Regions from separate parts of the Homo sapiens genome. Here regions 1 and 3 are each linked to region 2. Evidence: promoter capture Hi-C in human tissues and cell types (Jung and others, 2019). All regions are on one chromosome and are shown on one strand. The core of a region is centred on a gene start or on the middle of the fragment in contact, and the rest is flanking DNA. Distances in the headings are between cores, read along the strand shown. Region 1 overlaps RNF17 (ring finger protein 17). Region 2 holds the start of ATP12A (ATPase H+/K+ transporting non-gastric alpha2 subunit). Region 3 overlaps LOC105370117 (a long non-coding RNA gene).

Evidence for each region. Contacts are between HindIII fragments. The study calls those that stand out against the background at their distance.
Region 1: a fragment that was not itself captured here is called in contact with the fragment with the promoter of ATP12A in region 2 in 1 of the 25 tissues and cell types used here (dorsolateral prefrontal cortex).
Region 3: a fragment that was not itself captured here is called in contact with the fragment with the promoter of ATP12A in region 2 in 1 of the 25 tissues and cell types used here (dorsolateral prefrontal cortex).

What each region holds. Positions count from the first base shown.
Region 1 is chr13:24,876,313-24,879,843 of GRCh38, reverse strand. It overlaps RNF17 (ring finger protein 17), which reads right to left. Exons shown (of 36, transcript NM_031277.3): 34 at 2,658-2,847; 35 at 549-657; 36 at 1-107. The coding sequence ends at 559. Among named protein-coding and RNA genes, the nearest start is that of CPAP, 45 kb to the left of the region's middle. The HindIII fragment of the contact is 6,934 bases long and covers 1-3,531 here.
Region 2 is chr13:24,678,274-24,682,052 of GRCh38, reverse strand. It overlaps ATP12A (ATPase H+/K+ transporting non-gastric alpha2 subunit), which reads right to left and starts at 1,645. Exons shown (of 23, transcript NM_001676.7): 1 at 1,301-1,645; 2 at 333-491. The coding sequence starts at 1,309. RefSeq lists an enhancer at 1-94 and a silencer at 1,288-1,597. The HindIII fragment of the contact is 3,620 bases long and covers 1-2,484 here.
Region 3 is chr13:24,517,125-24,520,665 of GRCh38, reverse strand. It overlaps LOC105370117 (a long non-coding RNA gene), which reads right to left. Exons shown (of 3, transcript XR_941756.2): 2 at 2,623-2,919. Among named protein-coding and RNA genes, the nearest start is that of PARP4, 6.1 kb to the right of the region's middle. The HindIII fragment of the contact is 3,259 bases long and covers 1-2,935 here.

The DNA.
Region 1 (3,531 bases), core at 856-3,355, 200 kb before region 2:
AGTGCTGAACAAGTTAGGAAAATTAAGCCTGAAATAGTCTAAAGATAAGACATAGTCTAAACATAACAGAATTCTTCTAGGCTTCTATAGATGCTCTCACTGTATACCTGAAAAATAAAATGTGTTATTTTAAACCTTTGCTTAATGTAAATGTTCAATCTAGCTGAATCATTTCTTATGGACAAGATAAAAAGTTAGCTGGCTACCCATGTAAGTACGTGGTATGAGGATGGTGACTGCTCAGTAGTTCTATGTGCTTAGCAGATATTTATGTGCTTAAAATTATTTACAGTGGCCACTCTCTCCTGCTCTCCCTATGTACCCTGGTACTGTCAGAGTCATGACAGCCCATCCAGGCATCCTTACAGATAGGGGACCTCTTTGATACTAGTGCTGAATAGGTGAGAAGGGCCTATGAAGAAATCTGGTGGAGCGTTGCTGTCATTCCTTTGAGAAATCAAGGAAAATCCACGGGTGCTTTTCTGATCAATCTAGCATTCATCTCCACTAGTCCCATGCCTTATGCTATGAAGAGAATGAGAACTTACACTTAGGCACTTATTCATCTTTATCTGCAAGCCCCATTTCTACCAACGGCATATGAACTGGATGCTGTTCATCGTCATATAATGTCACTATCTGTTCTGGTGCTGGAGCCTAAAATTAAAAGATACAGTTGTCAAGAAAACAGTAATGTCTTTGCTGCCTTTTCCCTCTCATATCTGGCCATTCACACGGGTGTGAAAAGGTGTTCTCAGGGGCCTATTGATAATTTATGCTCTATGCTTCCAAAAGGCATCTGTAGTGGTTTCCTGCAAAATCCCATTCTTTCCATTCTTCTGCTCTCTTTAAATTCCTTCTCACAAGGTCTTCCTAAATGAAGCCAGTGGGCTTTGTCACCACCATCCCTTGTTACAGTTCATTTGCATTCCACACAAAGCATTATACCTTTATGCATAAACTGACTGTGATGGTTAATATTAGTTGTTAACTTGGCTGGATTGAGGGATGCCTCAATGGCTGGTGAAGCATTTCTAGGTGTGTCTGTGAGGGTGTTTTCAGAGGAGACTGATGCTAAATCAGTGGACAGAGAGGAAGACCCACTCTCTATGTGGGCAGGGGACATCCAGCTGGCTGGGAGACAGGCAGAAAGGGGGTTCTCTGCTCTCCTTTCCTTCCTAAGTGGGGGACACCTTTTCTCCTCTTGCCCTCAGACATCAGCCTCCAGATTCTTTGGTTTTTGGACTGTAGAACTTGCACCAGTGACCTCCCAGGGGCTCTTTGGCCTTGGACTAGCAGCTGCATTGTCAGCTTCCCTAGTTCTGAGGCCTCCAGACTGAGCCACGCTACCAGCTTCTCTGGTTCTCCAGCTTGCAGACAGCTATCATAGGACTTCACCTTTGACTGTGTGAGCCAATTCCCGTAATAAATCCTCTCATATATCCTATGGTTCTGCTTATCCTTATATACTGACAAAATTCTGAATATTAGAGAAGTGAAAAAATACCTATCTATAAGAAATACTTGCCCTTTTTTCACTGGGTTGAGAGAAACCCTGTATGAGCTATTCATACCACTCTGCACATGCAATAGCATATATACACAGGTTTTCAAAAAGCACTTTCCAGGAACCATGCTGACTGATTATGAGCTCATTTTTGTCATAGCCAGTGTGTCAGGAATCCCCAAATCATGGCACCAGGCAGGAATCACAAAGGAGGGAAGCAGGCTGAGCTGCACACCAGCAGTGAGGACTAGGTGAACTGAACATCACATGTTCCTATCTAAGGGGCTGTGGCTACACTTTCAGCTGACTGCCATTTCAGAGGGATGGGGAGACCCAGGATTCCTAGTTTTTAGAATATCTAATCAGGGCCAGAAATACAGACTTTTTGGGTAAAATTTCCAACTTTAAAACACTGTGTGCTAAATAAAACAAGGTACAGGCCAGATTCTGCCTGTGGGCTACTGTGACATGCTGAGCCTAAGAAGAAAACATTTACATTAAATGCAGTCTGGAGTTTTTTAGTTGACCTTTTGACACAGGTTCTACTACATCAAATAAGTAGTACAATTATGAGATTAGTACAATTAGCATAATTCAAGCCTTTCTATAATGAGCAGAACTACCATTCTTTCTTTCCCACTCTTCTTTTAGGATGCAGGTGAAATGCCACATTCCTGTTTTACTTATTCAATTAAATACTTGAGTGGCTTCTAAGTAGCAGCTCAAACACCCTTTCCTGTCCTCTCCAGATGCAAATAATCATTTCTTCTTACGCTTCCCCCACCCACAAAGTTAGCTATAGCTCTGTTATAGTACTTATTTCATTCAACCTCATACTTGTTTGCATATTTGTTTCCCCATTATAAGTTAATTATGGGATACTCATCTTGAGCATTTTATTAATTACATAAATGATATTTTATATCACCACAGGGGTAAGCAGTTTGTTAAATATAAACTAAGACATTTTAACAAGCCTCAAAATTAAGCTTTATATGTATATATAAAGCTATACATATAAACTATATCCTATATAGCTGTATATGCTTTAGTATACTCTCGCATGTAGACGCTGCATAGAAACAAACACTTTACAAAGTATCGACACAGAAATAGCTTTACAATAATTTTGGCTACTTGAGACACTTACCATGGACACAGCATAGAGTTGTTTTCCTTGAAGACAGTCTATCATAGCCCACAGTGCCTCCATGCTCCATTTGGGACAATATGGTATTCTTGTCTCCCCTAGATCCCTTAAGGGAGGTTTAAACCCTGCCAAGAGAACCTTTATGGCTCGAGCTGGATACCGCATAAGATGAGAAGGAATTTGGCACAGTCTGTCACAAAAGAAATTCTTACATTAAAATTCTCTTCCGGCTGAAACTATCCAATTCTTAGAAGAAAACATAGGGGAAACGCTTCATAACATTGGATTTTGCAGTGATTTTTTTGGATACGACACCAAAAGCATGAGAAAAATCAGATAAAATGAGAAAAATCAGATAAAATGGACTTCCTAAAAAAATTAACTTCTGTGTATCAAAGGACACAACGGAACAAAAAGGCAACCTACAGAATGGGAGAAAATACACATAAACACGGACATTACTCTAAAGATCTACAAATGACCAACAAGCACATGACAGGATGTTCCACGTCACTAATCATTAGGGAAATGCAAGTCAAATCCAAAGTGAGACTCCACCTCACACCTACTAGAATGGCTATTATAACACAACAAAATTACAAGTGCTGGTGAGGATATGCAGGAATTGGAACCTTTGCGCACTCTTAGTGAGAATGTAAAATGGCGCAGCCACTATGGGAAACAGCATGGAGGTTCCTCAAAAATTAAGCATAGACCATATGATCCAGCAGTTCCATTTCTGGGTATATACCCAAAATAATTGAAAGAAGGTACTCAAAGAGATAAATGTATACCCGTGTTCGCAGAAGCATTATTCACAAGACCCAAAAGCGGGGAGCAACCCAAGTTCCACCTTCCAGGGAAGGGATAAATA
Region 2 (3,779 bases), core at 396-2,895:
ACACACCACACACATACACACACCACACACTACACACACCATATACACACACCACACACCATACACACACACCACACACCATACACCACACACCACACATACACACACACACCACACACTACACAGACACACCACACATACACACACACCACACATACACCACACACACACACCACACAGACACACCACGCAGACACCACACACCACACACAATCTCAAGGGGATTTCAAATCCCTCAGACTGAATGTCTGTGGTAAGAGGTGGGTTCTAGGGGCAAGCTCTTGCGGGGAAGGGCCATAGCCGGCAGGACCCCGTGGCTTAAGGCTACTGACCAGATGGAGTTCTTTCTGAAACTCCTCTTTGTGATTTTTCTTTTTGAGTTCCAGGCAGTTGTTCTTCAGACCCCTATACTTCTCCTTGCCATCCCCCTTGTCTGTTTTCACGATGTCCTTAGTTCCGCTGAGCTCCACGGAGTAAATTTCTGGGGTTTTCTGAAAGAGAAGCCCAGGTGCAATATTGGCCCCAAATGGGGTTTCCGAAGAGGTGCTGAGCGCCCCTCTGCGGGGTCAGGACCTGCAGGAGTCAGGAGCCCCTTCTCCCTTTCCTTCCCTCCTCTGGGGAGGCCGGAGGGAGTCGGACAGTGGAGTCTCTCCCCCACCTCCCGCCGACCTTGGCTTCCTCTCCGTCCGTGTAGAGGGGAGGCGGGGTGGGCACAGGCCAGCCAGCAGCTCCTCAGGGTGACCCTTCTCTGGGTGGAGCAGGTGGGAAGTTACCCCCCCAACTCCTGACTGATGCCTCCAAGGAGCTGTGAGGTTTCCTTAGAACCTCGAGGTTCCTTAGGCACCTCGAGGTTTCCTCTGAGGTGTCCTTCCCAGGGGACACAACAGCTGTGCGTCCTGTTTCTTGGGGAGGAGGCACCCACTAAGCTTACGACCCTCAGTCCTGATCAGGGGGCCCTAACCGGAAGTCTTTTCAGACCGCAACGAATCCATGTCACCCCATCCTCCGAGTCGGAGCCCGCAGGTGCCATGGAGCTGGCCTAGGACCCCTTGGCCCCTTCTCGCTCCTCTGGACTGGCTTCTTTCCCCAGCCAGCCCCGGCGGCCGCACGGAGCCGTGGCGGGGAGTCAGAGAAGCGGTGCCCAGGCCGGGGGGCGCTCAGAGGAAAGGCGGCCTCCCCTTGCCCCGGGACGGGGCGTTTCTCCTCTTCGCCTTTTCCTCGCTTCCCGTCAGCCTGCTCCGGTCCCCGGGGCCTTGGCCCAGCGTCTCGCATCCTCGGCCGGCGCGGGGGCTGCACGCACCTGGTGCATGCTGGGCTGGTGGCGCCGCGGGCTGCGGGCGTGGAGCGCGGATCCGGGACCGCAGCGGCGGAGCGCACGGTGGGGGGCCTCGTGTGGCTGTGGCAGTGGCAGTGGCTGAGGTGTTGGCGGTGGAGATACCGGCGGCGGCGCGGGCCCTGCACGCACCTCCGCGGCCGATCGCCAGCCGCTGCACCGGGGAGGTGGCACCAGCCTTAAATGCCGCCCGCCCCGCCCACGTCCCCGCCAGGGCGCAGGCCAGCGGACGCCTCGGAGGGTAGGAAACCCGCCGGCGCGCGCGCAGGGAGGGGGACCGACAGCTAGGGGTCGGGAGAGTCCAGGATTGAGGACCCCCTGGGAATCCCCTTCCCTTTAGTAGCCGAACGCCAGGGGGCGGGGTCTCTAGGGGGCGGGTCCGGCATCCAGGTGAGTACAGCCCTGGTTCCGCTGGGCGCCCAGAGCCGGACCAGCTGCTCCGGCGAGCTCCCGGCACGCCCACGTCCTGTCCAGGCTTCCCTGAAAACCCACACATGCCTTTTTTTAAAAATGTAATTTGCCTACCAATAAATCAATTTATAAAAATGTGTATGCAGAGAAGGGGAAATTGCAGTTTCTAACAGCAACTACTGTTGGAGATGTCCCGGCTAGAAAAGGCCAATGTGTTTTTGAGAATGGATTTAGATAGGTAAATTCAAGCTTCCGAGAGAATTTGGGAATAACTGAGAGACTCTGAAGAGTAGCTGAATTAATTTGCCGGATCCAGATAAGAATTTGGAATTCTGAAACAATTTGGAGAGGGAATGGGGAGGAGAGATGAGAGGATTAGGGTCGGTGAGACCACAGGAACCTGGGGCCCCAGGCTGCGGGTGCGCAGGAGCGGAGGCTGTTGGCTGGACTGGGCTGGAGAGGTCTGTCTCCACCTATTTATGTCACTCCCAGCTGAGACTCTATACATGAAGGAGAAAAGAATTTCTGACCCTGAAAGTTGATGTGCATACTAAAGCAGTGGTTGTTTTATACTGCTAAGTTTGGGTTGGTTTGTTATGCAGCAATAGATAACTGGGACATGCTCCATGCTCTTAGTGCCCAGCATGAGTTTTTGCACAGGATAGAAAAGGTATTTTCCCCCTGACACTTGAAACATAATTACTCCAGATGAGAAAGATAGCCTGAAAACAATATATCAGAGAGATATTTAGCAGTTAACAGTGGAGGAAATCAAACACGTTCTTTTAAAAGAATGAATCGTGAAGTCTTAAAGTCAGTGAAGAATATTAATTAATGGAGAGGAACATAAAAAATAAAACCCACGAATAGAGTTTAGTAATCAGCACCTATTTAGAAGAACAATAAGAAATTGACATGATTGAAATATATGAAAGGGAGTAGAGATAAGTTTCAAAAGAGGGGGCACTTTATTGGGCCCTTGATGCTCTGCTAATAAGTTTCCATTTAGATAAGGACTAATAGGAGGGTGCTAAGTTTTATTCTTTTTGAAAGTTATATATCAAATATGGTAAGAAAGATTGTCATTTTGACCATATTTAAAATGACTAAGAGTGAGGAGTCCAGAGAAGCAGCAAAAGTAACAATCCCATCATGCAGTGACTAGAACATCTGGCAGAAAACATGAAGAGCATTGGGTACATTTAGAAAAGGTAGAAGAAAAACAATAAGCTTGTGCCCGGCCGGGCGCGGTGGCTCACGCCTGTAATCCCAACGCTTTGGGAGGCCGAGGCGGGCGGATCACGAAGTCAGGAGATCGAGACCATCCTGGCTAACACGGTGAAACCCCATCTCTACTAAAAATACAAAACAATTAGCCGGGCATGGTGGTGGGCGCCTGTAGTCCCAGCTGCTCGGGAGGCTGAGGCAGGAGAATGGCATGAACCCGGGAGACGGTGGAGCTTTCAGTGAGTGGAGATCGCGCCACTGCACTCCAGCCTGGGCGACAGAGCGAGACTCTGTCACAATAAAAAAATTAAAAAAAAAATAAGAAAAAAAAGCTTGTGCCCAATTCTAATTAGGAATTAATTATAACTTCCTGTTCCTTTCAGATGCTAAATTTCCATAATAATTTCAGAGCATGACTATAGTTGGTGGTGAGGGACAATTGGGAAAAGAAGCTTATTTTGAGGGAATTTGAAGTGTTAGCAGTTAGAGACGTGGTTTTGTAAAGTAGCAGTAGAGACAAAGATACTTTCTCATGGCATATTTGTGATCTTAGATTTTCCACACCTCTCTGTTCATCATGGCTTTCAAATGAGACTAAGGGAATGTGTTGTACCCGACATAGTGAACTGTCTCCATAGTGCTGCACACATAGGTCTTTCCCCGCTCTCCCTCCTTCTTCCGTTCCAAAAGGGCAGAATCTGAAGCCTGGGTTCCTCCCTCTGTGAAGCAAGGATGACAGCAATGAGTCACTTCTTAACTAAAATGATAAGGGACAGGAAGACTCCTAGTGGCATCTGGTGTAAAGATA
Region 3 (3,541 bases), core at 57-2,556, 160 kb after region 2:
CTTTTTAAACACACGTTTTCTACAAGCTCCAAAAGCAACATTTCCAAGCACAGTTAGCACTTCCAGGAATGTATGCATACACAGTCCTAAATGCTAACAGCAAGATATGGCACACAAAATATGTATGATCTGCTATTTTGTTCACTGAATTCAACATGTATTAACTAAGAACATTTTTCAAAGATCATCTTGTCAAATCTCAGAAAACCTAATTCTGAGCATAGTAGGCCCACATTGAAAATGCGAATATCTAGCTCTAAAAGGTAAACACCAGCTTTGTGCCATAAACCTAAATGATGTGCTGCTTTCTGTCAATAAATTTAAGATGCTTTTACATGATCACTTTTCAAAAACACATTTTGTACAAGCTCAAATACCATTTCAGAGCCCAGTTAGCGCTTCTGGGAAGATATGCATGTACAGCTACAAATGCTAAAAGCAAGACATGGCACCCAAAATATAAGTTATGTGCAGTTTTCTTTTGCTGAATTCAACATGTGTTAACTGAGAGCAGTTTTCAAAAACACATCTCAGAAAACACAATTATCAAAAACACATCTAGAAAACAGAGCTCAGAAAACACAACCTCAAGCTTAGTAGGCCAACAAAGAAAATGCAAATATCTAATCATAAAGGGTAAACACAAGCGGTGTGCCAAAAACCTAGATGATGTTCTGGTTTCCTTCACTTAATTCTACATGGTATAGCAGTTCTCAAAGACGCAGCTTGTCAAATCTCAGAAAAAACAATTCTGAGCATAGTAGGCCCTAAAAGGTAAATGCAAGCTATGTACCAAAAACCTACCTGATGTGCTGTTTTTTTCTCCAAATTCAACATGTTTTGACATTGATTCATTTTTAAAAACACGTTTGTACACACTCAGAAAAAAACTAATAAAAGCCTAGTTAGAACTTTCAGGAAGATATGAAAATACAGTCCTAAATGCTAAAAGCAAGATATGGCACACAAATAATGTCTAATACACTGTTTTTTTTTTTTTCACTAAATTCAACGTGTATTAACTAATAGCAGTTTTCAAATACACAACTTGTCAAATCTCAAACAACACAATTCTGAGCATAGTAGGCCCACACAGAAAATGCAAATATCTAGCTCTGAAAAGTAAATGAAAGCTGTGTGCCAAAAATCTAGATGATGTGCTGCTTTCTTTCACTGAACAGAACATGTTTAGATATTGATCCTTTTTTTAAACAATGTTTCAGACAACTTTAAAAAAAGCATTTCTGAGCCCACTTTGTACTTTCAGGAAGATATGCATATACATCCCTAAATGCTAAAAGCAAGATATAGCACACAAATAATACATGTGCTGTTTTCTTTCACTGAATTTAGTAATGTATTAACTAAGAGCAGTTTAAAAAAACACGTCCTGTCAAATATCAAAAAACTCAGTTTTGAGCATATTAGGCCCACACAGAAAATGCAAATACCTTGCCCTAAAAAGTAAATGCTAGCTTTTTGCTAAAAAATTAGATGATGTGCTATTTTCTGTAACTGAACTCGTTCCATATGCTTCAAAGAAAATGCTAAACTGACACAGCTATAGATCAAACACTTGATGCATCACTTTCTTTCGACCCCCATGTCCTCACCGCCTGCTTCTTTGTTTGATCACCAATAAATAGTGTGGGCTCCCAGAGCTCGGGGCCTTCACAGCCTCCATACTAGTGTCAGCCCCCTGGACCCACTTTATGCACCGTTAACTTATCTTGTCTTATTCATTTGACTCCGCTGGACTTCGTAGCCCCCACAGTCTGGGATTGGGCCTGATCACCCCAACAAATAATGAGTTGATGGGCGCAGCAAACAAACATGGCACATGTATACCTATGTATCAAACCTGCACGTTGTGCACATGTACCCTAGAACGTAAAGTGTAATAGAAAAGTAAGAAAAAAGAAAATGGGTCTCTAAAAAGTGACCAACGTAGAAACATGTTGAGTTCAGTTACAGAAAATAGCATGATAAAACGTGTTTTTGAAAAGTGATCAATGACAAATTATGGCTGGGTGCAGTAGCTCAGATCTGTAATCCCAGCACTTTGGGAGGCCAAGGTGGCAGATCACTTGAGGCCAGGAGTTCGAGACCAGCCTGGCCAACATGATAAAACCCCATCTCTACTAAAAATACAAAAAATTATCTGGGCATAATGGCGCACACCTGTAATCCCAGCTACTTGGGAGGCTGAGACACAAGAAATCACCTGAACCCTGGAGGCAGAGGTTGCAGTGATCTGAAATCATGCGTCTACACTCCAGGCTGGGCCAAAGAGCAAAACTCTGTCTCCAAAAAAAAAAAAAAACAAAGCCACAGGGGACAAACACACACACACACACACACACACACACACACACACACAGAGAGAGAGCATGAGAGCAAGAGCTGGCAGGGAAGCACATGCCTATAGTCCAGCTACTTGGGAGGCTGAAGGGGGAGGACTGCTTATGCCCAGGAGTTTGAGTCCAGCCTGAGCAACACAGCAAGACTCCATCTCTGAAAAAAGAATTTTAAACAAAAAACACAGAAAGGCCTTCTCTTATCTTAGGACAACTTAGTAACACTGTGAGTTAAGTACAGAAGAGAGGAACACAATTAACTCACTTGTAAGATGGTTATGGTTTTCTTCTTTTGAATCCTTTTTTTCCACAGGTGCTTCTTGATACCGTGCAACAGAAAATAAATTAGGAGAAGCACTTTTTGAAGTTAAGACAAAATCTCCATGGGCAGTTCTACAGAAGTTGCTTTGCTTATGGGATAAAATGTAGGAAGTGTATGTTTCTTCCTGAGTTAGGTCCAGGTAGACGTATGATAGGAAGCAGCGTGTGGCTCTCTATCCAGTGGTGGCATTTCCTGGAGACCTGTGCTTCTGGCTCTGATCATCAGGCAGGAAACTCAAACCTTGCAATTAAGAAAAGCAACAAAGCTGATGACTTCCTTCAACATTTTCTCTTTTATCCCCAGTAGTGACTCCACCCCACAAAGGCTTCTCCACAGTGACAAAAGTATTTTTTCCCTTTATTAGGAAGTGATGTTTAACAAAATCATGAAATATTTATTTATTTCTTTATTTATTCATTTATTTATCTTTTTAAGACAGAGTCTTGCTGTCGCCGAGGCTGGAGTGCAGTGGTGCAATCTCAGCTCACTGCAACCTCCACCTCTCGGGTTCAAGCTATTCTCATGCCTCAGCCTCCCGAGTAGCTGGGATTAAAGGCATGCACCACCATGCCCAGGTAATTTTTTGTATTTTTAGTAGAGATGCAGTTTCACCATGTTGCCCAGGGTGGTCTTGAACTCCTGAGCCCAGGCAATCTGCCCGCCTCGGCCTCCCGAAGTGTTAGGATTACAGGCATGAGCCACCATGCCCGGCCAAAATCATGAAATTTTTTAAATTCCAAAGTGACCTTCACATAGATTTAAGTAACAGTATATTTAGATGCTGCTTCTGTGCAGACAGTGTGGGCACGGCAGAGCTGCAGCTGCCTAACTCCTATTCCACGTGTGAGAACATGCAGGAGTC